6 separate regions of the Homo sapiens genome follow, and regions 2, 3, 4, 5 and 6 are each linked to region 1. The links are contacts of gene promoters, found by promoter capture Hi-C in human tissues and cell types (Jung and others, 2019). All regions are on one chromosome and are shown on one strand. Each heading gives the region's core, a stretch centred on a gene start or on the middle of the fragment in contact. The rest is flanking DNA. Distances are from core to core; before and after follow the strand shown.

What was found. Contacts are between HindIII fragments. The study calls those that stand out against the background at their distance.
Region 2: a contact is called between a fragment that was not itself captured here and the fragment with the promoter of TMEM242 in region 1, in 1 of the 25 tissues and cell types used here (dorsolateral prefrontal cortex).
Region 3: a fragment that was not itself captured here is called in contact with the fragment with the promoter of TMEM242 in region 1 in 1 of the 25 tissues and cell types used here (dorsolateral prefrontal cortex).
Region 4: a fragment that was not itself captured here is called in contact with the fragment with the promoter of TMEM242 in region 1 in 1 of the 25 tissues and cell types used here (dorsolateral prefrontal cortex).
Region 5: a fragment that was not itself captured here is called in contact with the fragment with the promoter of TMEM242 in region 1 in 1 of the 25 tissues and cell types used here (dorsolateral prefrontal cortex).
Region 6: a fragment that was not itself captured here is called in contact with the fragment with the promoter of TMEM242 in region 1 in 1 of the 25 tissues and cell types used here (dorsolateral prefrontal cortex).

The regions. Positions count from the first base shown.
Region 1 is chr6:157,321,474-157,324,966 of GRCh38, reverse strand. It overlaps TMEM242 (transmembrane protein 242), which reads left to right and starts at 1,448. Exons shown (of 4, transcript NM_018452.6): 1 at 1,448-1,555; 2 at 2,162-2,262. The coding sequence starts at 1,468. TMEM242-DT (TMEM242 divergent transcript) reads right to left here and starts at 1,333. Exons shown (of 1, transcript NR_187268.1): 1 at 490-1,333. RefSeq lists enhancers at 736-1,165, 1,346-1,685. The HindIII fragment of the contact is 1,828 bases long and covers 931-2,758 here.
Region 2 is chr6:157,956,129-157,959,809 of GRCh38, reverse strand. No RefSeq gene overlaps it. Among named protein-coding and RNA genes, the nearest start is that of SYNJ2, 24 kb to the left of the region's middle. The HindIII fragment of the contact is 3,731 bases long and covers 473-3,681 here.
Region 3 is chr6:157,995,286-157,999,027 of GRCh38, reverse strand. The region is part of intron 1 of SYNJ2 (synaptojanin 2); the gene reads right to left. Among named protein-coding and RNA genes, the nearest start is that of SYNJ2-IT1, 4.0 kb to the left of the region's middle. The HindIII fragment of the contact is 8,824 bases long and covers 1-3,742 here.
Region 4 is chr6:158,025,999-158,030,017 of GRCh38, reverse strand. SYNJ2 (synaptojanin 2) reads right to left here. Exons shown (of 27, transcript NM_003898.4): 3 at 992-1,262. Among named protein-coding and RNA genes, the nearest start is that of SYNJ2-IT1, 27 kb to the right of the region's middle. RefSeq lists enhancers at 2,987-3,056, 2,574-3,261, 3,262-3,949. The HindIII fragment of the contact is 3,760 bases long and covers 154-3,913 here.
Region 5 is chr6:157,937,773-157,941,558 of GRCh38, reverse strand. SNX9 (sorting nexin 9) reads right to left here. Exons shown (of 18, transcript NM_016224.5): 16 at 2,812-2,926; 17 at 585-676. Among named protein-coding and RNA genes, the nearest start is that of SYNJ2, 42 kb to the left of the region's middle. The HindIII fragment of the contact is 9,940 bases long and covers 1-3,786 here.
Region 6 is chr6:158,080,037-158,083,911 of GRCh38, reverse strand. It overlaps SYNJ2 (synaptojanin 2), which reads right to left. Exons shown (of 27, transcript NM_003898.4): 19 at 2,585-2,803; 20 at 2,402-2,480; 21 at 315-483. Among named protein-coding and RNA genes, the nearest start is that of SYNJ2-IT1, 81 kb to the right of the region's middle. The HindIII fragment of the contact is 5,446 bases long and covers 1-3,875 here.

The DNA.
Region 1 (3,493 bases), core at 199-2,698:
TCATTTAATTCTCACAGTAATCCTATGAGTTAGGTACTATCAGTTTTTGTGTGTGGGGGGGGCGGGATGGGGTGGATGGCAGAGTTTCACTCTTGTCATCCAGGCTGGAGTGCAACGGCTCGATCTCGGCTCACTGCAACCTCTCCCTCCCAGGTTCAAGCCATTCTCCTGCCTCAGCCTCCCGAGTAGCTGGGATTACAGTCCCGCATCATTAGACTCCGCTAATTTTTGTATTTTTAGTAGAAACGGGGTTTCACCATGTTGGCCAGGCTGATCTCGAACTTCTGATCTCCACCTGCCTCAGCCTCCCAAAGTGCTGGGATTACAGGCGTGAACCACCGCGCCTGGCCTACTACCAGTTTTTAAATTTTACAGGTGAGGAAACTGAGCTATAGAGGGGCTAAGTTACCCCAAGTTCACACACCTGAGAAGCGGTTTAGGACCCGAGCCCAGGTTTGAGCTATTAACTGCACTTCACTGACGCAAAAATGGATGCATTCATTTACTCATTCATCCAACATGCATTTGATGTTGGTAACCAGTTAATATCTGAAAGCTGGGGGATATAAACTGAACATAGAGTCCCATCTCCATCCTCAGGAAACTCATGCCCTCCGGTGATGGGGGGCAGGACAAATAGCAGAGAGACCGCCTTATTTTACAAGATGTCATTGTTCTCTGAGAGGCTGAAAAGATTTTCTATCACCACTAGCCTCCTCCTCTCCACGGCCATTTACAGAATGGGCAAACCAGCCTCCCAGCGGAAGACCAAGCTTGCTAGCGGTCAACGTTGCCGGCAGCTCTGCAAGCGCTTCCAGCGGGCGTCGCTCTCCTTTCGGGGGTGGTACTTTCATTCGGTCATCCTGTGAGTGTTCCACTTCCCGACGGAGGCCGAGCACTCACACCGCGGCGGAGGTACCCGTCACCGCAGAACCGGGTGGCTGGCTCTCCTCCAGGGAGAAAGCCTGTCACTTATTCCTCAACACTGTTGGGAAGTTACCTAGAAAAGTACAGACAGAAGACCTAGGCTTGCGTTTTAGAATCGTGGAGTGTTAGCGCTGGCCAAATCGTTGGACACAATGTAAGCTTGATCAGGAAAATGAGCTCCAGGGTCTCACAGGCGGGGCCTGGAATCTTGGCGCAATCTGCGACCCTCACTGCCTCCTACAGTCGGGGCTGAGCGTTCTTTCAAACAGCCAAAGTAATCACTTAAGTCCAGCAATGATCTCCTTGGAGAAATCAAAAGATCCTCCCTAAGAGACGGCCTTGGAGGGCATCGCCCCTGGGGCTGGGCACAGCACGTCTTCCCGGCCCCGGCGCGGGAGGAGGGTTTGGGGACAGCGGCCGCACTCCGGACCCTTCTTCAGATTGCACAGGAGGAGGCGGTAGCGGAACCTTTCTCCTCCGCCTGGTTCTCGCTTCCACCCGGGCCCAGTTGGGGACGGACGCACTAGAGGCGACCTAAACATGGAGACAGCGGGCGCTGCAACTGGGCAGCCGGCCTCTGGGCTGGAGGCTCCGGGGTCCACGAATGACCGGCTTTTCCTGGTTAAAGGTAAGATGTGCTGTGGTGAGGTGCGGGCGTCGGGGTGAGTTAACCCCGGACCCTGGCTTGCTCTGGAGCGGGCATTCCCACACACATCCCGCTCTGAGAGCCCTTAGCTTGTGCTTGCCCCTGAGTTTAGCCCGCGGAGTCTGGCGGCCCAGGGAGGGTAGGTCGCTTACTGGGTGGAGTCTCCCCTTGGGCGGGGCGGGGGGCAGATCCCGCGAGCTATTCTCCCGGGCGTGCCATATTTCCCCGTCACCTCTGCAATTGTTCTAGAGCCTTGCCTTTTCTGATTGCCATCGTCTCTTCTCCTCCCCGTGAGAAACTTCACGCTGTGGTCCCAGGGGAGAGGGGAAGGGAAGCTGAACCTTTTCTCTGCGCTCGGGAATAATAATTCGGAATGACCCAAGGAACCAGAGGTCGTGCGGTCACGCGTGTTTCTCAGCCGCTGTCATTTACTGTTAGCAAGAGCTGCTTAGCCATGGTTTCTTGAATTTCAAAAGTGATTTTGATTGTAACTCGAATAGTATCTTAAACTTACTTTTGTACATCTTTTTAACCTCTTTTTATTTAATTTTTTTTAATATCCCCCCTCCTCCCCGAAACTCTTGGCAGGTGGAATTTTCCTTGGTACCGTTGCTGCAGCGGGAATGCTAGCTGGATTTATTACAACATTATCATTGGCTAAAAAGAAAAGCCCTGAATGGTTCAATAAGGTTGGTGACACTGAAATCCATTCATAGCATTGTTATTGTTTACAATATATGGCAGCTTTTGCGTAGAAAAAATAAAATATTGATGGTCTTTCACATTGCTTTAAGATGTGAATTTATATACGCTCATGGATTCTAGAAATGTACAAATTAACCAAGTCTTTATTTTCATTTAGAAGGATGTACTTATGTGCTTTCTTAAATTTTAGCGGAACAAGACTTTGAAAGCTTATCTGGTACATTTCCTATTCACAACATGACTTTGAATCTAAATTTGGGCCAGGCATCGTGGTTCATGCCTGTAATCCCAGCACTTTGGGAAGCCGAGAGGGGCAGATCACCTGAGGTCAGGAGTTTGAGACCAGCCTGGCCAACATGGCGAAAACCCATCTCTACTAAAAATACAAAAATGAGCCAGGTGTGGTGTGGCACTCCTGTAGTCCTAGCTACTCGGGAGGCTGAGGCAGGAGAATCACTTGAACCCAGGAGGCTGAGGTTGTAGTGAGCCCAGATAACACCACTGCACTTCAACCTGGGTGACAGAGCGAGACTCTGTCTCAAAAATAAATAAATAAATATTCACACAAATAACTGTGTAATTACAATTTGATGTGTGCTATGGAGGAAAAGTGTTACGTAAAACATCATAAAAAGTCAAGTTTCCTTTCCACTTACATTTATCTTTAATAATCATACTTAAGCCTTATCGATACCATAATGGCAAGAGACCATGTTTAAAGTGTGCTTGGATCCCCTCTGAATGCTCTAAGCTTATATGGAGCTTCCTAAATCACTGCTATGGACCTTGTGGGTCATTTTCTCTCTATGTTATAGAATGTTTTCAGAGCAGAAATATATTTTGTGGTGGAAATCAGAGTAGTGCCTTAACAGTAGAGTTTTGGTTGATTTCTAAGCCTAAGTTATGTTAATCCTTGGCTCACTGATCTTTTTAATAATCTGATGAAAACTAGGGATTCTCTGGGGCTGAAGAGCGCACGTACACATATCACAACTTTCCATCCTATTTTGTTATTCTGAGATTTGATCATCACAGATGCTCTTCGGGGTCTAACAGTGGTTTTCAAACTGCAGTCCACAGAACCCTGCTGATCCTTGATCCTTGGGTCCATGAAGTCAGAACTATTTTCATAATGATACTAAGATGCTTGTACTAATGGTACAGAGGCAATGGAGAGTAAAACTGCTGATACCTTGGTCTAAGGCAGTAGCACCA
Region 2 (3,681 bases), core at 1,089-3,588, 630 kb before region 1:
CAGGACATGGACATTCAGACCATAGTGGAGGGTTTGTGTGTGTGTGTGTGTGTGTGTGTGTGTGTGTGTTTGTGTGTGTTTGTGTTTGTGTCTGTGTCTGGTGTGTGTGTCTATGTTTCAGAGAGAGAGAGAGAGAAATTGCTTGTTTTGGAGGTCTGCTGAAGAGTCCCCTAGAGAGACTTTGCTGAACATTGTATGCACTCATGTGAGAAAACTATGTGAGGATAGTGATCATAACCACCAAAACTCCACAGGCAGGCCAAACAATTCCTGGGACTCACAGGGCTGGAAATAGATCATATAATCACCAGCCAGAGTGTGAAGATATCTTAATACAGGGCATCTGGCAGGATCCACTTGGTAGGAAGACAAAATTAGTTCTACCCAAAGAGACTGCTCTGATCCCACTCTATAAAATTTAAAAGCAAACCTTGAAAGGATCAAATTGATTTCAAATTACTGAACTACATGCCAGAAAAAAAGCTGAACACTATTTAAAAGAATACAACAAAATCCAGCACCCAGCAATGTAAAATTTTACAATGCCAACATCTAACCAAAAACTACCAGGCACGCAAAGAAACAGGAAAATATGAACATCACCAAGAGAAATATCAATCAACAGAAAAGACCCAGAAATAAAATACATGATGGTATTAACAGACAAAGACTTTAAAACAATTATTACAAATATATTCCATATATTCATGAAGGTAGGGAAAAATAGAAACATAAATGAGGAGAGAAATTAATAATATAAGAAAGATCCAAATGGAATTTACTAGAGATAAAAATATAATATCTGGAATAAAAAATACATGACATGGGATTAACAGCAGAGAGATGCTGCAGAAGAAGACATCAGTGAGCTTGAAGACATAGCAATAGCAACTGTCCAAAAATGAAGCCCATTGAGAAAACAAATTAACAGAGAATCCAGTGATCTGTGGACAAGATCAAGTGGTTTAACATGTATATCTCTGCAGTTTCAGAAATAAAGGAGGGAGAAAGGAAGAATATTTGAAGAAATAGGGCCAACATTTTTTCACATTTAATGAAAACTTTATAGCCATAGATCCAAGAACCTTAACCAAACCAAAGCAGAAGGTGCATGGAGAAAACTATATTAAGGCACATGATAATCAAATTGCCGGAAACTAGTGACAAAGAGAAAATCTTTAAAGCAGGTCAGGGAAGGCCAGGCACAGTGGCTCACGCCTGTAATCCCAGCACTTTGGGAGGCCAAAGTGGGCGTATCATGAGGTCTGGAGATTGAGACCATCTTGGCTAACGTGGTGAAACCCTGTCTCTACTGAAAATACAAAAAATTAGCCGGGTGTGGTGGTGGGCACCTGTAATCCCAGCTACTTGGGAGGCTGAGGCAGGAGAATGGCGTGAACCCAGGAGGCAGAGCTTGCAGTGAGTGGAGATTGCACTGCTGCACTCCAGCCTGGGTGACAGAGCGAGACTCCGTCTCAAAAAAAAAAAAAAAAAGCAGGTCAGGGAAAAAAAAACCCATTGCTTACAAACGAGCAAGGTAAGAGTGATGGCAGATTTGTCATCAGAAACTATGCAAGCCAGGAGACAATAGAGTGACATCCTTAAAGTACTGAAAGGAGGCCAGGTGTGGAGGCTCACGCCTGTAATCCCAGCAATTTGGGAGGCCGAGACGGGAGGATCAGGAGTTTGAGACCAGCCTGGGCAACATAGCAAGACCTCTTGTCTGCTAAAAATAATTTTAAAAAAGATTAGCCAGGTGTGGTGGCATGGGCCTGTGGTCCTAGCTACTTGGGAGGCTGAGGTGAGAGAATTACTTGAGCCCGGGAGCTTGAGGCTGCAGTGAGCCATGATCACACCACTGCACTGCAGCTTGGGTGCCAGAGCCAGACCCTGTCTCAAAAAAAGTACTGAAAAGAAAAAGAAAGCAATCAATCCAGAATTCTATCCTGCATAAAATTTCTTTCAAAATCAGCTTTTCAGACAAACAGAAACTGAGAGAATTAATTAACTAGGGAACCTACATTCCAAGAAATGTTACAGGACACTCCTCAGGTAGAAGGAAAATGGCACTAGAGGGAAATTTGGATGTACACAAGGATTCGAAATGATAAACACATCAGTAAATGTAAAAGACTTTTTTATAATTGAAAATACTCTTTAAAAGATAATTAACTGTGGCCAGGCGCAGTGGCTCATACCTGTAATCCCAGCACTTTGGGAGGCCGAGGCGGGCGGATCACAAGGTCAGGAGATGGAGACAAGATGGAGACCATCCTGGCTAACACGGTGAAACCCCGTCTCTAATAAAAAATACAAAACATTAGCCAGGTGTAGTGGCGAGCACCTGTAGTCCCAGCTACTCGGGAGGCTGAGGCAGGAGAATGGCATGAACCCGGGAGGTGGAGCTTGCAGTGAGCCGAGATTGCGCCACTGCACTCCAGCCTGGGCAACAAAGCAAGACTCCATCTCAAAAAAAAAAAAAAATTAACTGTTTAAAGCAAAAATATTAACAGTGTATTTTTGAGTTTATAGTATATGTAGAATAAAATATATGACAACAATAAGGTACAAGAGGGGAAAATGGAAGTAACATATTGTAAGGTTCATAAGCTGTGTATGAGGTGGCACTATTATTTAAAAATAGACGATGATAAGTTAAATACATATAGCAAAGAGGGAAAAGGGAGGTTTTATTGGAGGTAAAATAAAATCATAAAAAGTACTCAATTCAAAAGAGGGAAAAAAAGGAATGAAGAACAGATTGAACAAATAAGAGACCAATGGCAAGATAATGGATTTAAACCCAGCCATGTTGATAATCACATTAAATATAAACCGTCTAACAATAATTGGGTGCTTTACGACTCCAGTTCAGGAACAAACAAATATAAATAAATTGTATGTAGGAAGGAAACAGTGAAGACTTTACCCTCTATAATGGAAATGACTATAACAGTGAAATGCTTCCACCCAGAGGCACAAGAGCCCCTCAAAGCTTTAAGCCCTGGCTGCTGCTTGGTCTCTTCAGCTCTTTTTTATTAATTTTTTTTATTTTTTAGAGACAGGGTCTCACTCTGCTACCCAGCCTGGAGTGCAGTGGTGTAATCATAGCTCACTGCAGCCTTGAACCCCTAAGCTTGAGCCATTCCCCCTGCCTCAGCCTCCCAAGTAGCTGGGACTACAGGCATGCGCCACCATGCCTGGCGAAGTTTTAAATGTTTTCGTAGAGTCAGAATCTTGCTATGTTGCCCAGGCTGGTTTCAAGCTCCTGGCCTCAAGTGATCCTCCTGCTTCGGCTTCCCAAAGCACTGGGATTACAGGCATCAGCCACCTTGCTTGGCCTCTTCAGGCCCTTGATTCAAGAAAGCAGAAGGCAAGGAGGGGAGTCACCATCCTGTTGGAAAACTGACCAGTTGTCAGGAGGCTGTCATTCGTAGGGCTGCTTTTCCAAGACAGGGGCAGGGAAGAATACGCTTGGCACCAGGTAATCTATCGAGGGTCCCTGGGTGCTCACGTACTCCATTTGCATGGCACATAGATAAGTGCACGCATGTTTCAGAGGGGGCACGAGGAGGCACCCGTGTCAGGAGGTTCAGTTGAATCACTAAATTAGAGTGGTACAGGCCGGGTGTGGTGGCTCATGCCTGTAGTCTTAGCACTTTGGGAGGCCAAGGTGAGCAG
Region 3 (3,742 bases), core at 661-3,160, 670 kb before region 1:
CTGCACAAACTTTCCTTCTGGGCTGTTGCTTGTCTTTTCACTACGTTTATGGTGTCTTTTGATATATTGGAGTTTTCCATTTTTATGTAGTCAAATCTATCATTCGGACACAGGGGGAATGGGAGGCAGGGGCCTGGGATGCAAACGTTCTCTCTCCAGATCTGCGTGCTGGCTATGTGGGTGTGTTCACCGGGTGAAGATTCATGGAGCTCAACGCTTCGAGTGTTCATTTTTCTCTATGTATGTTACACTTCAATAAAAATATTTCCCATATCTGTCAGGTTTATTTCCTTTATGACTTCTGAGTTTGATGCTTTCCTTAGAACATCTTTCCATGCCGTAACACTGTGAAAGCATAGCCTATATTTTCTAATACTTTGAAAGTTGTTTTTTTACACTTAAATACCTCTGCATTTATTTTAATGTATGATAAAACATAGGACTCTCACTTAGTGTCCATATGGATAGTTTTGGTCACAGGCTTAGCAAAATCTTTCTTCCCTTCTGTATGAGAATTTAATGTTTAATTATCTAGCTCTGGTTCCCTGGGAACCCCAATCAAGATGGAACGTCAACTCTGTTACTAGACAACATTGCTCATGGTAAAAATGACCTTGATTGGCAAATTGCCTCTGGACAGGGAAGACCCATAAGTGAATTATAACCACTCGGTGAAGAAGCCAGGCATGGGGCTTCCTTAGGTGTGGTAACTCTTGTAACATGGAATGTCCCCTGTGTGAACCCAGGGCTCTGTAAGGCTGGTAATTTTATAAGGGATTCTGGCTCCTTGGGGACCCAGGGCTTTCAGCTGGGGGAGGAGCTAGTGACCAGAAGGACACCTGTGTGTGCAGCCACCTGCAAAAACTGCCAGGAAGACCCCTCGCTCCCCTGGAAGCAGAGCAGCAGGCAGCATCCTGCTGGCCAGCCAAGGTTTCCAGCCTATTCCTCTCTGAGCAGACCGGCCAAGAATGCCTGCGTGAATATCCAGTTGAATAGAGCAGGGGCCTCTTAGGCACTGCACTGATCAACCACACCAACAGCAGGTGCTGAGTATCCACCCTTACCTTTCTCTGACCGACTGAAGTCATCACCTTTATAAGAAACAAAGTAACACTGCTCACACAAGTCTGTTCTGAGCCTTCCACTCTACTGTGTTGATTTGTGCTGACAGCCTCCACGATGGTTAGGGCTTTATAATATGTTGTGCTACCTGGTAAATCAGTCTGCCTTTGTGGATCCTTTTCAAAATCTTGGCTATTTTTTTTGCCAATGCTTCGTCATTCAACAGTGTTTGCCAAGCCTCATTTCCACACGAGGCAGTGTTAAGGTAAGGTACTGAACGAGATACACAATGCCCCTGTATTAGTTGCCTGGGTTGCTGTAACAAAGAACCACAGAACGGGGGGCTTGAAACAACAGCAAATTTATTGTCTCACAGTTCTGGAGGCCAGAAATCCAAGATCAAGGCGTGGGTAGGAGCATCTTCCCTTGCTTTTCCCAGCTTCCGGTAGCCCAGGCATTCCTTGTCTTGCGGCAGTGTCACTCCCATCTCTGCCTCCATTGTCATATGGCTGTCTTCCCTGTATGCCTTCACATGACATTCTCCCCTCTGCGTGCGTCTGCCTGTGTCCCTTTTCTTCTTATAAGCACGCCAGTCACATTGGATTAAAGGCCCACCCTATACCAGTACGATCCCATCTTAACTTACATCTTCATTGCATCTGCAAAGACCCTATTTCCAAATAAGATTGCAAGGTATCCCGGGTTAGGACAGCAATGTATTTTTCTGGGGCACACAATTCAACCCACAATGCATTTTTGCAGTGGACAACAGAAGACACCCACGTAAGCACACACATAAGGTAATTTCAGTGATAAGCGCCAAGAAGAAAGGAAACCAGGCATGGGGCAGAGACAGTTGGTGTGTGGGGGCTGCAGGGTATTCCAGCCACAGAGGTCAGGAAGGTCTTACTGCAGTCACGAAGCTGGGTGGGGGGGGGTGGGGTAGGTGGGGAGACGGAGGCAGCAGCAGCCAGGCCAACCCTTGGTGTACTAGTCTGTTCTCGCACTGCTATAAAGAAATGCCTGAGACTGGGTAATTTATAAAGAAAAGAGATTTAATTGGCTCATGGATCTGTAGGCTATACGGGAAGCATGGCAGCATCTGCTTCTTGGGAGGCCTCGGGGAGCTTTTACTCATGGTGGAAGGCAAAGTGGGAATAGGCAACTTACATGGCAGGAGCAGGACCAAGAGGGTGGGGTGGGTGCCACACACTTTTAAACAATCAGATCTTGTGGCAACTCACTGTTTCAATGATAACCCCAGGGGGGATGGTGCTGACCATTCATGAGAAACCACCACCATGGCCCAATCACCTCCCACTGGGCCCCATCTCCAGCACTGGGGATCACATTTCAACATGACTTCGGGTGGGGACATAGATCCAAACCATATCACCTGGGGGAGGGAGTGCATGCAGGTGGGTGTGAAGATTCTGAGCAGGAACAAGTCAGGCTGCTGAATGCAGTGAGCCCAGGAAATGGTGGGAGATGAGGGTGGAGAAAGAGGCAGGGGCAGAGGATCAGGGCTGTGTGAGCTTCAAGCAGATCCCTATACGGGGAGCAGGGGAAGAGCCAGGAGACTAGTTCAAAGGCTGCCAAGCAGACCAGGAAAGCACATGGGGCAGTGGCTGCACTCTCGATGTAGCAGCGATGACCGGGGGACTCGGTGGGATTCACCATCTGTTTTGGGGTGGGATTCACTACTGGCTGGTAGGTTGGATGAGGCTGAGGAAGGAAGGGGCGTCAGAATGACTCACAGGCTTTTATTACCAGCAGTTGCCTGGATGGTGCTGCCATTAACCAAAATGGGAGAATGAAGGTAAGAATAAGTTTGGATGTAGGGGGAGTCCAGCGATACTGTAAAATCAGCCTGTTACATTTTAGACCAGGCTCTTGTTGGAATTTAATTGGATTTACTCATCGATACTTGCACTTCCAGATTAACTGGAGAGGAACTGCCATCTCTATAGTGTTGATGTTCCCACTCCAAGAACATAGTATGCCTTTCCACAGATGTGGGCTTCAGTCAAGTTCTATAGCTTTCTTCTTTTAGGCCTTATACACTTTGTTTATTCCCAGAAACTGTGGGGGAGTGGCATCTGCTTTTCCCATTACAGACTCTAATTGATTAATGATGGCATTATGGGAAGGCTATTGATTTTTATCTGTCGATGTTGAAAAGCGGCCAATTTATAACTCCCTGTCTAGTGAACCACCAAGCAGCTTGTCACCCGGCTCACGGAGGTGTCAACATTTTCCCACTCTTATTTCACCAACTCCCCGTCCCCGCTGTGTGTGTGTGTGCATGCATGTGTCCGTCTGTCTCCTGGCGCATGCCAAACAGATCCCAGACATGGGATCACTTCACTCGCAGATGCTCATTTCAGGCACAGATGGGCATTTCCCGCACAGATGCTTCAGGATCTAGCTCTCGGCTTTCCTGAGTGTATGATCCTATCCTCCGCACTCAAAATACCTTAGGAGTGTTCAGAAGAGAAGGCAGGCACAAGACAGAGAGCTGCCCTAGGAGGGCCCAGCAGAGTGGATGTGATGGAACTGGAGTTTCAAGGTGCTCCTTTGAAGCTCACACACTGTTTGTTTTTTTTAATAGGAGCACCCCTCAAGTCTTTGTTCCAGGTGTATATTCTCTTTTAAGCCAAAATTCTGAGACGCTCTCAGC
Region 4 (4,019 bases), core at 784-3,283, 700 kb before region 1:
GGGTGACTCAGCTTCCCCATTGATGGGACTGGTTTAGCACTGTGATTACCAGCTTGGGACCTGGACCCAGAAAGCCTGGGTTCAAATCCTGGCTCTGCCACTTAGTAAGTGTGTGGAGTTTGGCAAAATTCCCTCGACTATTCGTGCCTCAGTCTCTCTACCTGTAAAATGGGGTAACAGAGCCTCCGCATAATTATTATAAAGGTTTTTATAATAATGATGAGTTATTACCAGCAGAGAGATCTTAGCACGGTGACCCGAACACAGTGCTTTATAAACATCAGCGGTAAACGGCTGCACACTGGAGGTAACCATGATTGAGAAGACTGAAAGAGTGAATCCAGGCAGAAGCACTGAGCTCGGCACCCGGGACTGAGGAAGCACTCAGCAGACGTCGGCTCTTATGTTTTTTACTTATGGAACAGGGTTTCTTTTCTTTCTTTCTTTTTCTTTGAGACAGAGTCTTGCTCTGTCACCCAGGGTGGAGTGTAGTAGCACCATCTTGGCTCACAGCAACCTCCGTTTCCTGGGTTTAAGCGATTCTCCTGCCTCAGCCTCCCGAGTAGCTGGGATTACAGGCACCTGCCACCACGCCCAGCTAATTTTTTTTTTTTTTTTTTTTTGTATTTTTAGTAGAGATGGGCTTTCACCATGTTGGCCAGGCTTGTCTCAAACTCCTTAACTCAAGTGATCCACCTGCCTCAGCCTCCCAAAGTGCTGGGATTACAGGCATGAGGCACCATGCCTGGCGCAGGTTTCTTTTCCAAATCTACACTGAACACATTCCAGGGGCCAGGGGTGGGGGGTGGCAGGGAGTTCAGGGTTAGTTTTCCTCTCATTGTGCTGAGAGCAGGCCTGGGTCCTAACTCTCCAGAGGTGCCCCATAACCCGGGGGTGGTGCAAGTGGAGGTCAAGGCCTCAGATGCCAACCAGGGCCCACCCTCTGCAGGAGACCCAGGGCCCACCCTCTGCAGGGGACCCAGGGCCTCACCAGAAGAAGGAGTTCCCCCATTCAGAGCTGTCATCCCCCTGCTTCTGCGTGCGGACAGTCAGGTCAAAGCGAGACCCATCGTTTGGCCATGAGAAATAGAACACCCCCGAGCTGAGGATTTTCTTCAAAGCTATGAGGCGTTCCTCCTCCTTGGCCTCTTCCTGAAGAGGGTAAAAGTCAGTGGCAGTGATTTTGTAGATTTCAGCATCTGGAATTCTGCCCACAGATGTGCAGCCTGTCACCAACACCAGGAAGCTCAGAGACGTGCCACCTGGAAAGGAAATCAGACAGGAGAGCTCAGGGTCGAAGTCGGCCCGGCCGCCTGGAGCTCCAAGGGGACAAATGGAGCCCAGGTTCAACCGCAGCCAGGAAGGCAACGTCTGTGCACCTGCAACTTCCCATGGCATTGCCCAACTCAATGGCTCAAGAACCTGCCCTGTCCTGTAAGCTTCAGGCGGGGCTTCTCAAAGTGTGGGACCCTGGCCAGCAAGTCAGCATCCCCTGGGAGCCTGTTAGACATGCAGATTCCTGCCGCCCAGCTGCCTGAGGCTGGGGGCAAGCTTTGCTTTAACAAGCCCTCCAGGTGATTCTGATGCCCCCAGGAGTCTGAAAATTCCTGGCCTAGAGCCCTTCCAGACCCCCAGGACCTACCCCCAAAGCCTCTCCAAATCACCTTCCCCAGTGCCTCCTCAGCCACTGCCTTGACTCAGGACCCCTGGCCTGGGGTCTGTCTTCCCCCACTCCATCACAGGAGTGGCCTTCCCAAAGTCATTGGATCACAGCCGCTCCGCCCTTCCTTCTTGCACAGCTCCCACTCCCTGCAGGACTACGACAGAAGCTCCCAAATCCCTCCCCGCTGCAGCCCATCCCTGCCCCACACGTGGGCAGACACCCCAGCCGGCTGCTCTCCTGAGCTGGCTGTCCTCCAGCTGGTCCAATGTGCCATAAGCATGACCTCGCACCCTGGGCTCTTGCCCAAGATGCTCCCCCTGCCTGGGACGTCCCACCGCCATCTGCCCAACAAGACCTCCATGACCCCTTCTCCACGCACCTCCCGCCTGTCTCTACCCTAACAATACTTCAGGCTTCGGGCCCAGCATTCCATCCTCTGGAAGAACACGAGCGTCCCCACATGCTCCGTAGGGACCATCCTGCCTCTGCCCTCCCCACTTCACCAGAAGAACTCCTCCTCATCCTTCTGGGCCAACTTGGCAGCAACTCCTCCGGGAAGCCTTCCTTGCTCTCCCAAGACACGGACAGGCACCCCTCGTACGTGCCAATAGCATTCCCATCAGCAGTTGTCACACACACAAAGCTCATGACCTCCCTCCCCACCTGTGCCCCCAGGGGAGGGGCTTCCTTGGGGGCAGGGCCATTTCGTCGTCATCTCCCAGCACCACACACACTCGGTTTGCTGAATGCTTCCTAAATAAATTCCTGCCAAATGCTACCAAGACGACCTCGGACCCTGCAGCCAGGCGAATGAGGCAGCCCTCTCTGGGGCACCACCTCGCTGTCGCTGACAGCTGGTTTTCTGTTCCCTATCCCCCGCTGCTCACAAGGGCACTTCACAACACGCTGCGTATCGGGGGTGCCTGGTGGCGCCGTGCCTCACTCTCGGGACGGGGCCCAAGAGATCATCGGGTAGAAACCGGCCTTTGGGGTCTGGCAGGGCTCTAGTCCCAAGGACACTCTTCCCACCCCGCTGAGGTCTGAAGGATCCGCCCAGCGAGATCTTCTGTGAATGATCAAGGGCCGCTGTCTACAGCCATGGTCTGGAGATGGTTCTGATCTCTCCACACTCCAGGAAGAGACCCCCAAAACAACCAGTTCCACCACCCTCTCACCCCAATTTCCTCACCACACTTCATAGGGAGAAGAGCGCTGCTTGTGGCAGGGTGGCGTGTGGCTGTCATTAAAGTGCGTTCCTTTAATGAGCGCTCAGGGCTCCCAGGGGCCTGCTGCTATGCCATGGGGTGGGGCTGCCAGCAGGGCAGGGGGTTGATCCCATCACATCTCCCCAGACACATCCTCAGGAAACCACCTCAAAACCACCTAAGAACAAAGGAAGTTATCACACTGGGGACAGGGACAGGGGTCAGAGTTCAGCTTCTCAAGTAGGATAGGTGGGGTTCCGGGGTTGGCAGCTTGTGATCAGAGCCTTGGCCACAGAGCGCTCCCGGCACCCACCTGCCTCTTCTGACACAGTGCAGGGAAAAGCACAGTTCAGCAGAAGTGCCCTCGGAGAGGCAGGAGGATGGCCCCTGTGGCTGCCAGAGCTATGGAAAATTTTGCATGACATCACTCCGTGAGAGTCATGAGCTGATTTCTAGCACCACTTCCTCAACAGCCTCCGTGTGGGGGGCCTGAGTGCCTGGCAACAGTCCCAGGTGCATTTCCTGGGCAGGACCACGGCCTGGGGGAGGCTGGGGAGAGGAGCACTGTAGCAGCCAGGAGAGGCTCTTAACATTGCCACAGAGCACTGGGGCTCCTGGGTCCAGGGAGGAGGGGGTCGGGAGTGGTACAGGGGAGTGAGGAGAGCCGGTATCTGGTGAGCGCAGTGGAGGCAGGGGAGCTGTACAGGCGCGGACTCCATCCTCCCGCCCACCGCAAGGGGCGCCCTTACCAGCCCCATCTCACAGGGAGGGAAACAGACGCACAGAGAGGTTAAGCAGCCTGCCCAAGGTGACAGAGCGGGGAGCTGGGATCCAAATCCACTTTCTAGCTACAGTGCCTGGGCAAGTTTCTCAAGCCAAGTCTGGCCCCAGAGCTGGTGCTCCTAATTACACCTCCTTGCAGATGACGTCGCCAGCCTGCTTACCCATGCTGCTGTCTCAGGGCTACCACTGCCATTTCACACACGCATGACTGTCCCCCAGGGAAGCTGAATCACCCGCCCAAGCACACAGCTAGTCTGTGTTGGAGCCAAAATGTAGGTTTCACTTTAAGCCCATGCTCCATCTAGCCCCAAAGTCCGGCAGTTTCCAATCGGATTAGTTTGCTGTACCCTGTATGTATGTATGTATGT
Region 5 (3,786 bases), core at 123-2,622, 620 kb before region 1:
CTACTAGATTTTTGTTTTCTATAGACTCTGGTAAACAACAAAATTACTAAGCAGAGGTAAGAAAAATTTAAGTTTTCGTTATTGTTTTGTGAATAAAACCATCCCACATCTCGCTTTTTTGGTTTTCTCTCTGCGATTTCCATGGCGCACTGTGAAAACCTCATTCACAAAAAGCAAAGGCTGCCTTTGGTTTCCTGTGTGGTGCCAGGCTCCTGTTCCAGCTGCCAACGGAGTCCCAGGGACGGCTGGGTGACCTCATCTCATTCAGCACCGTTCCTGGTGCACAGAGGCACAGAGAGGCTGTGACGGGGGGAAGGAGCTGCACAATAAGGAACTTCTTGGGGCCTTGCAACTAGCATCCAAGACCCCTGCTTCAGAAGAAAATCTTTTTTAACCCAGTGTTATCCAAAAAGCAAAGGGCAGATGGAATTAGGAGATTAAAAAAATCCTGTCCAAAATTTAGGCTCCTTTGGTTTATTACTTAGGATTAAAGAATACAAACAGATTAACTTTACATGGTCAAAGTGGTTTACCAGGAACCCTCTCCTCAAGCACATGCGAAAGGCACGTGGACGCCCACTCACCGTTTCGTAAAATTGCACTTGCTGCTCCAGGTACAGGCGGATGACACTGTTGTAATCATAGATCCGGTTACTGTGAAAGTGATTCATCTCAGCTACAACCCAAATCAGAACATCAATCAGTTTTCCCTCAAGTTTTCAAATGACAACACCTGGTTTCTCTGCTCAGTTACAATTAATCATCAACCTGACCTAATCTGGTTGGCTGCTGTTGTCAGTTCTTGGTAAATCACTTTACTAAGAGGTTAGAAAAACAAGTTGAGCTGGGCGCAGTGGCTCACACCTGTAATCCCAGCACTCTGGGAGGTGAGGTGGGTGGATCACCTGAGGTCAGGAGTTCAAGACCAGCCTGGCCAGCATGGCAAAACCCCATCTCTACTAAGAATACAAAAATTAGCCGGGCATGGCAACAGGTGCCTGTAATCCCAGCTACTTGGGAGGCCGAGGCAGGAGAATTGCTTGAACTCAGGAGATGGAGGTTGCAGTGAGCCGGGATTGCACCACTGTACTCCAGCCTGGGTGACAGAGCGAGACTGTCTCAAACAAAACAAACAAAACAAAACAAGCTAATGACAAACATTACTTTCCAGTAAATGAATGACTTTCACTGTCTTGCATATTCAAAACTATAAAATCCAATACAGATAAATCACCCAAATGCAGCCTATTACTCTAACAGAATCGATCAAATAGAAAATACTTGGTCATATTTGTTACAGATGACTGCAGTTCAAAGCCTCTGGTGTGTCTGCACTGGACCTAGCAGGCAGCTGGGGTCCCTGCCCCGCTCCCTCCTGCACAGCAATTGCTTCAGCAGGTTTCTGGTGAAAGGCTGGGCAGCGTGTGGGACAGCGGGAGACCCTTCTTCAGTACGGGAAGCCTTGCTGCCCCTGAGCACCAGCGACGCTGTCAGAACTCAACCTCTCACAGGGCAGGAGGACTGGATGCTGAGGGACAACTTTCTTCATGTTTGCTGAATACATGGATTCCTTCTTTCTCTGTCCCCCCTGCCCCTGCCCCCAACTCTAGAGGAGTCTTCGTCATCAGAGGACCTCATTGCCTCCCTCGGATGCCTCCTATGCCGCCTTCTCCCAAACCCTCCAGGCTGAGAAAGCCAGCGGCTGCACAGATTCCCATGACATGCAAACTGTTCTACATTTTACATTCAGTTACTTGAAGTTATACAAAGCTTTGTATTTCTCAATTTGGATAACCTCAAACACAAGTTCAAAACCAAACTCCCCATTTCAAACCCTTCAAAACCCGAAACTTCAATCAGGGTTCCTCGTTTTTGCCGTAGTGGCCTGGCTCTGGACACCTCCCTCATCCTTCTCTTTCTCCCATGAATGCCCCAGTCTTGAAAGCTGTTCCTTGGAAAAGCCTGCAAATGTGCTTCATTCTCTTCTCCCCAGTACCACATCTTTAGGCCCTCAAAGCTCAGACTACAACAGTGAGATGGTCTTCTGGCTGGGCTCTTGGACAGTGTCTGCATCTTCCAATCTCCCCTCCATAACCAGCAAATCCTTCTCCCTTGAGGATTGATTTTTTTTTACTCCCTTTTAATGGCTTCTTAATGCCTGCATCAAGTCTAGAGCTTTCAAGTTCCTTCACAATCAAAATTTATTTCCCAATAACCTCTAAGTATGTTTTACTCTTTCATGCCCATGACACAATCTAGCACCACAATTTTGTGGCTTTTGTTCCTAACAGAACACGCTCTCCATTCTCTGCCCATCCAAGTGCCATCCACCCATCCGCCAACAGGAAAAATCCACTTGCTGCCCTCATCTGCTCAAAAACACTCAAACCTATAGAAATTCATCTTTTTTTTTTCTTGACACAAAAAAATTGTGCCTAAAATGACACACCCAAACCCCTTCACATTCCATGATCCCAAGGCACGCAGGTTACAGACTGCTAAAAGCTGGGCTCTGGCATTTAATAGAGCATTATGATACCACAGATTACAAAAGGAATCTTAAATGTCTCTCAGAAATAATAAAATGTACAGTTTTAATCAAGCTGTCATCTATAGCCAGATAAGGTGGACAGGTGAAAAATTAAATAAATATTACAGATTTTCATCAGCACCGGGATCCTGCAAACGAGGGGCTTAAAAGGTCTCACTTACTTAACTGCTGCTCACATCTGGATTTCTCTCTATCAAGGGAAACTTTGCTGGGGAAAAAAAAACTTCCACCAGCACCTCATAAGGACCCTTTCATCTTACCTTGCAACGCGTAAGACATGATGCTGACTCTCTTCACCATGTTCTGTTTGTCTTGTAGGGTGATTTTACTTGTTGCAACTAGTTTGTCACTTTCTTTCACTTTTTCTATTGCTCCCTGTGAAATATAAAATGCAACAGTATGAATAAAGCTGAAATGATTAGTCATTAGTTTAAAATATAACAATGCTAATATATTCTATAACTGATTTGCTACTGAACAGGAAATACCTCCACAAAATAAGAAGAGAGGAAAGCATCTAAATTTAACTTCCTTCAAGTCCCTTGGAAGCAAAAAGGTTGCTATTCTTGACAAATGTCACTAAGCTAAAATGAACAGTTTTATGCTACAACAAAAGAGAAAAGCAAACAGCACACCATCTCTGTAATATTCAGAAGCCGCTGCCATTTGAGGAGTAGCACGTAATGGAAATCAGGCATTAGCAGGTTTTGGAAGTCATGTGGCTAGGTACAGGGCAGCATGTGCACACAGGCACTCTCTCTCTTTTTTTATACAACAGAATATTTTATAAGCTAGTGCCTAAGTGTGCTGATTCTAAGTCCTGGGCTTTCCTTTGATTTTTTAAGAGGCGCTGAATCCATTTAAAGACTCAGATGGAAGCGGCTAGAAAAGCTGCCAAACATTTCCCACTCCAGTGTCATCACGCTGCTCGTTATTTACCGCTGTCTGGAAGGAACAACTCTATACTCATGCATTAATTAGGCTCCAGGCCTACAACTCTGATGCTGCTGGCATACATTTCGACAGCAAGCTAATTTTTCTGAGTTTTATATTAAGTTATCTGAAGTTGTACAAACCTAATTTACCTATGGTACCCCTTCATGATATTTAAGTTATAAAGCAGAATGCTAAAATGGCCACATGCCAGGACTGTTAAGATCACAGACCAGCCCTTTGCAGAGATTTTCCTAACAAATCCAAGTACATCATAATATACGATAGACTACTATGGTTGA
Region 6 (3,875 bases), core at 1,129-3,628, 760 kb before region 1:
CAGGACACGTGCACCCTGCCCTGCAGCTCAGGGCCCAGGCGCCAGCAGGGACGGTACCCCAGTTCCATTGGTACACCCACAGCCCTGATATCCTCATAGCCACTGTTTGTAGCCTAAGTTTAGATGCCTCGGGTCCCAGGTAGCATGGCATGCATCGTCCACACATACAAACATGCTCATCACATGGGACAGAGGGCTTGCCCTGCGGGTGTCCTCCGTCACTTCTGCAAGGGAGGCTTTAGAAGGTGTCCTTAAAAGCTCAGGCCTGTTGCTAGAAGAACGGCTTGCCTGTCCCTCCCTGCAGGGTCACTAACCTTCTGACTCATAGTCCAAACTTGTGAAGTCAAAGTTTTCCTCCAGCAAACAGGAGTTGGCAGTGGGAGACACGGGGGCCATGCTGTCTCGTTTCCGAATGATCTCCTCTCGCAAACCTTTCAGCCAGTCCTTGGTCTTCGGTCTAATCTTCACTGCTCTGCCTTTCACCTGGGAGGGCAGAGCGGCCACCCAGGAATAAATAAAAATCATGACCCCTCCTGTTGATCACACAATGCTTCTCACCAAAACCCACACACCCTCAACGAGGCCAATCTTCACATTTGGCCCTGAAAAACCAAGGGTCCAGACCTCACGCAGGCTCAGCATAGCTCTCATACATCTGGTTGAAAAAAAAGTTGAACTGGGCTGGGTGCGGTGGCTCACACCTGTAATCCCAGCACTCTGAGAGGCCGAAGCAGGTAGATCCCTTGAGGTCAGGAGTTTGAGACCAGCCTGACCAACACGGTGAAACCCGATCTGTACTAAAAATACAAAAATTAGCTGGGCGTGGTGGTGAGTGCCTGTAGTCCCAGCTACTCGGGAGGCTGAGGCAGGAGAATCGCTTGAACCCGGGAGGCGGAAGCTGCGGTGAGCCGAGATTGCACCACTGCACTCTAGCCTGGGTGACAGAGCAAGACTCCATCTCAAAAAAAAAAAGTTGAACTCTCATCTCCAGCTTCCCATTTGGTACAGATTTAAAGCCAAGATACTATAAAAACGGAAACTATCTATGAGCTGCATATTCCAAAATACATACTCTAAAGAGAAAGACTGGAATAGTCTCCCACATGGCAGTGCGAGCATAGACAGATCAAGTAACTCGGCGAGAACTACACTCTAAAATGGCTAAGCTTCTGCAGCTGCTGGTAGAGCTGCCTTCCAACGTGAGACACAGTGACTGACATTCTTCTTCCCCATTCTGTTTGTTTGGTTTTTTGAGACAGGGTCTCGCTGTCACCCAGGCTGGAGTGCAGTGGCACGATCTCAGCTCACTGTAACCTCTGCCTCCCAGGTTCAAGCGATTCTCCTGCCTCAGCCTCCTGAGTAGCTGGGACTAGAGGCACGCGCCACCATGTCTGGCTACTTTTTTTTTTTTTTTTTTTTTTTTTGGAGACAGAGTCTCACACTGTTGCCTGGGCTGGAGTGCAATGGTGCGATCTCGGCTCACTGCAACCTCTGCCTCCTGGGTTCAAGTGATTCTCCTGCCTCAGCCTCCCAAGTAGCTGGGATTACAGGCACCTGCCACTATGCCTGGCTAATTTTTGTATTTTTAGTGGAGACGGGGTTTCACTATGTTGGCCAGGCTGGTCTCGAAATCCTGACCTCATGATTTGCCCGCCTCAGCCTCCCAAAGTGCTGAGATTACAGGCGTAAGCCACCACACCCAGCGCCTGGCTAATTTTTGTATTTTTACTAGAGACAGGATTTCGCCATGTTGGCCAGGCTGGTCTCGATCTCCTGACCTTGGGTGATCTACCCACCTTGGCCTGACAAAGTGCTGGGATTACAAGCATAAGCCACTGCGCCCACCCTTCCGCCCTATTTTGCAAGTAGCTAGAGCCGGACATGAGACACCTTAGAACCAGAGTGAAGAATCCAAACTCCCTCCCGCATATGGCGTCTATACATAAAGACAGATTGGTGGCCAGGCATGAAAGCTCATGCCTGTAATCTCAACACATTGGGAGATCGAGGCGGGAGGATGACTGGAGCCCAGGAGGCTGAGGTTATAGTGAGCCATAACTGTCCCAATGCACTCCAGCCGGGGCTACAGAGTGAGATCCTCTCTCTACAAAATTTAAAAAAAATTAGCTGGGTGTGGTGGCACGTGCCTGCGGTCCCAGCTACTTGAGAGGCTGAGATGGGAGGATTGCTTAAGCCTGGCAGTTCAAGGCTGCAGCGAGCTGTGATTGCATCACTGTACTCCAGCCTGAATGACAGAGCAAGACTTTGTCTCAGAGAAAAAAAAAAAAAAAAAAAAAAAAAAAAAAGGCACAGGTCAGGGCAAGAGGAGGAAGAAGACATGCCCACATAAAAAGAGGGATTGATCAGACCCCACTCCACAGTGTGGCCAAGTACAGCGTACCTTCATACCGTCCACGTCCAGGACACTGAGAGCCGAGTGACTGTCTGCAAAAGTTACCAGCATCTGCCCTTGGTTGATCCTGGAATAAATGATACTCCAAGTCAATGCCAAGAACGACCTGGCAGCTCTCACGGATCCTCATCGACATCCCCTGGAACCCACATCAGCCAGGGGAGCAGTTACCTGACAAGAACAATTGTCCCATAACTCCCCAAGGTCTGCATGAGCTCAGTACGCAGGTCCTCTGGAAACTCGTTTTTCTCTTCTAAGGTCGGTGATTGAAGGTTTACTACAACAGTGGCATCCAGGGGGCCCTGGAAGGAGGACACTTCCTGGAAAACCCTCTCCCGAGCACCCACATCGACTTCCTGAACTTCCACCTCCACGATCGCCAGCACAGGTCTGCGTTAGGAACAAAAGAGGGATGACAGTTAGCCTGGGACAGATGTCCACACCCCCGGCCTCCAGTCCCCAGTTAGCCTGGGACAGATGTCCACATCTCCAGCCCCCAGTCCCCAGCTGCTGTCCCCCAGGGCTCTTTGTAAACAGTCAACACCAACAACCTGCGAATGTGGCCACCAGCAGGTGGATTTGCAGGCTAGCTGCCCTGCTCTGGCGTTTTAGTCTTCATCTTTCCTTAACCTTAGTATCACCTTGGCATTTTTATCTAAAGATGATTTGAGGGGGAAAATAAAGTGTGGCACCTTAAAGATGTATCCCAGTACTTGGAAAATAACCAGCCATCAGCAAAGATTTTTGACATGGTAATCCTCAGTACCACCAAGGAGGTGGGGAAGCAGACATCTGCACTCTGCCAGGGGTGCAAGCTTTTCAGAGGGTTACTTGGCACTTTACATAGAGTTCCAAAATTGTTCATCTCTTTTCACCTAGTAATCTCACTTCTCGGACTTTATTCTAAGGAAATGACCAGGGATTCAGACAAAGATTTAATGCATGAGGTTGATCATTTACAGCATTGTTGATGGGAGGGAAAAAAAAAAAGGGAAATGCTCGTTTTTTTTTTTTTTTTTATTTTGAGTCAGAGTCTCCCTCTGTTGTCCAGGCTGGAGTGCAGTGGCGCGATCTCAGCCCACTGCAACCTCCGCCTCCCGGGCTCAAGTGATTCTCCTGCCTCAGCTTCCCAAGTAGCTGGGATTACAGGCGCATGCCACCATGACCAGCTAATTTTTGTATTTTTGGTAGAGATGGGGTTTTGCTGTGTTGGCTAGGCTGGTCTTGAACTCCTGACTTTAGGTGATCCGCCTGCCTCAGCCTCCCAAAGTGCTGGGATAAAGGCGTGAGCCACTGCGCCAGGCCAAAATGCTCTGTTTCTTAATGGGGAAACAGTTATGATACCTTCATATAATACCCTACGCAATCATTAGGAATAATGTAAAAATCAATGATGTAAACAGGAAAACAGTCCAGCAGGAAATAATGCAATCCTTATAGTAATTCTGACACAGGGATGGTT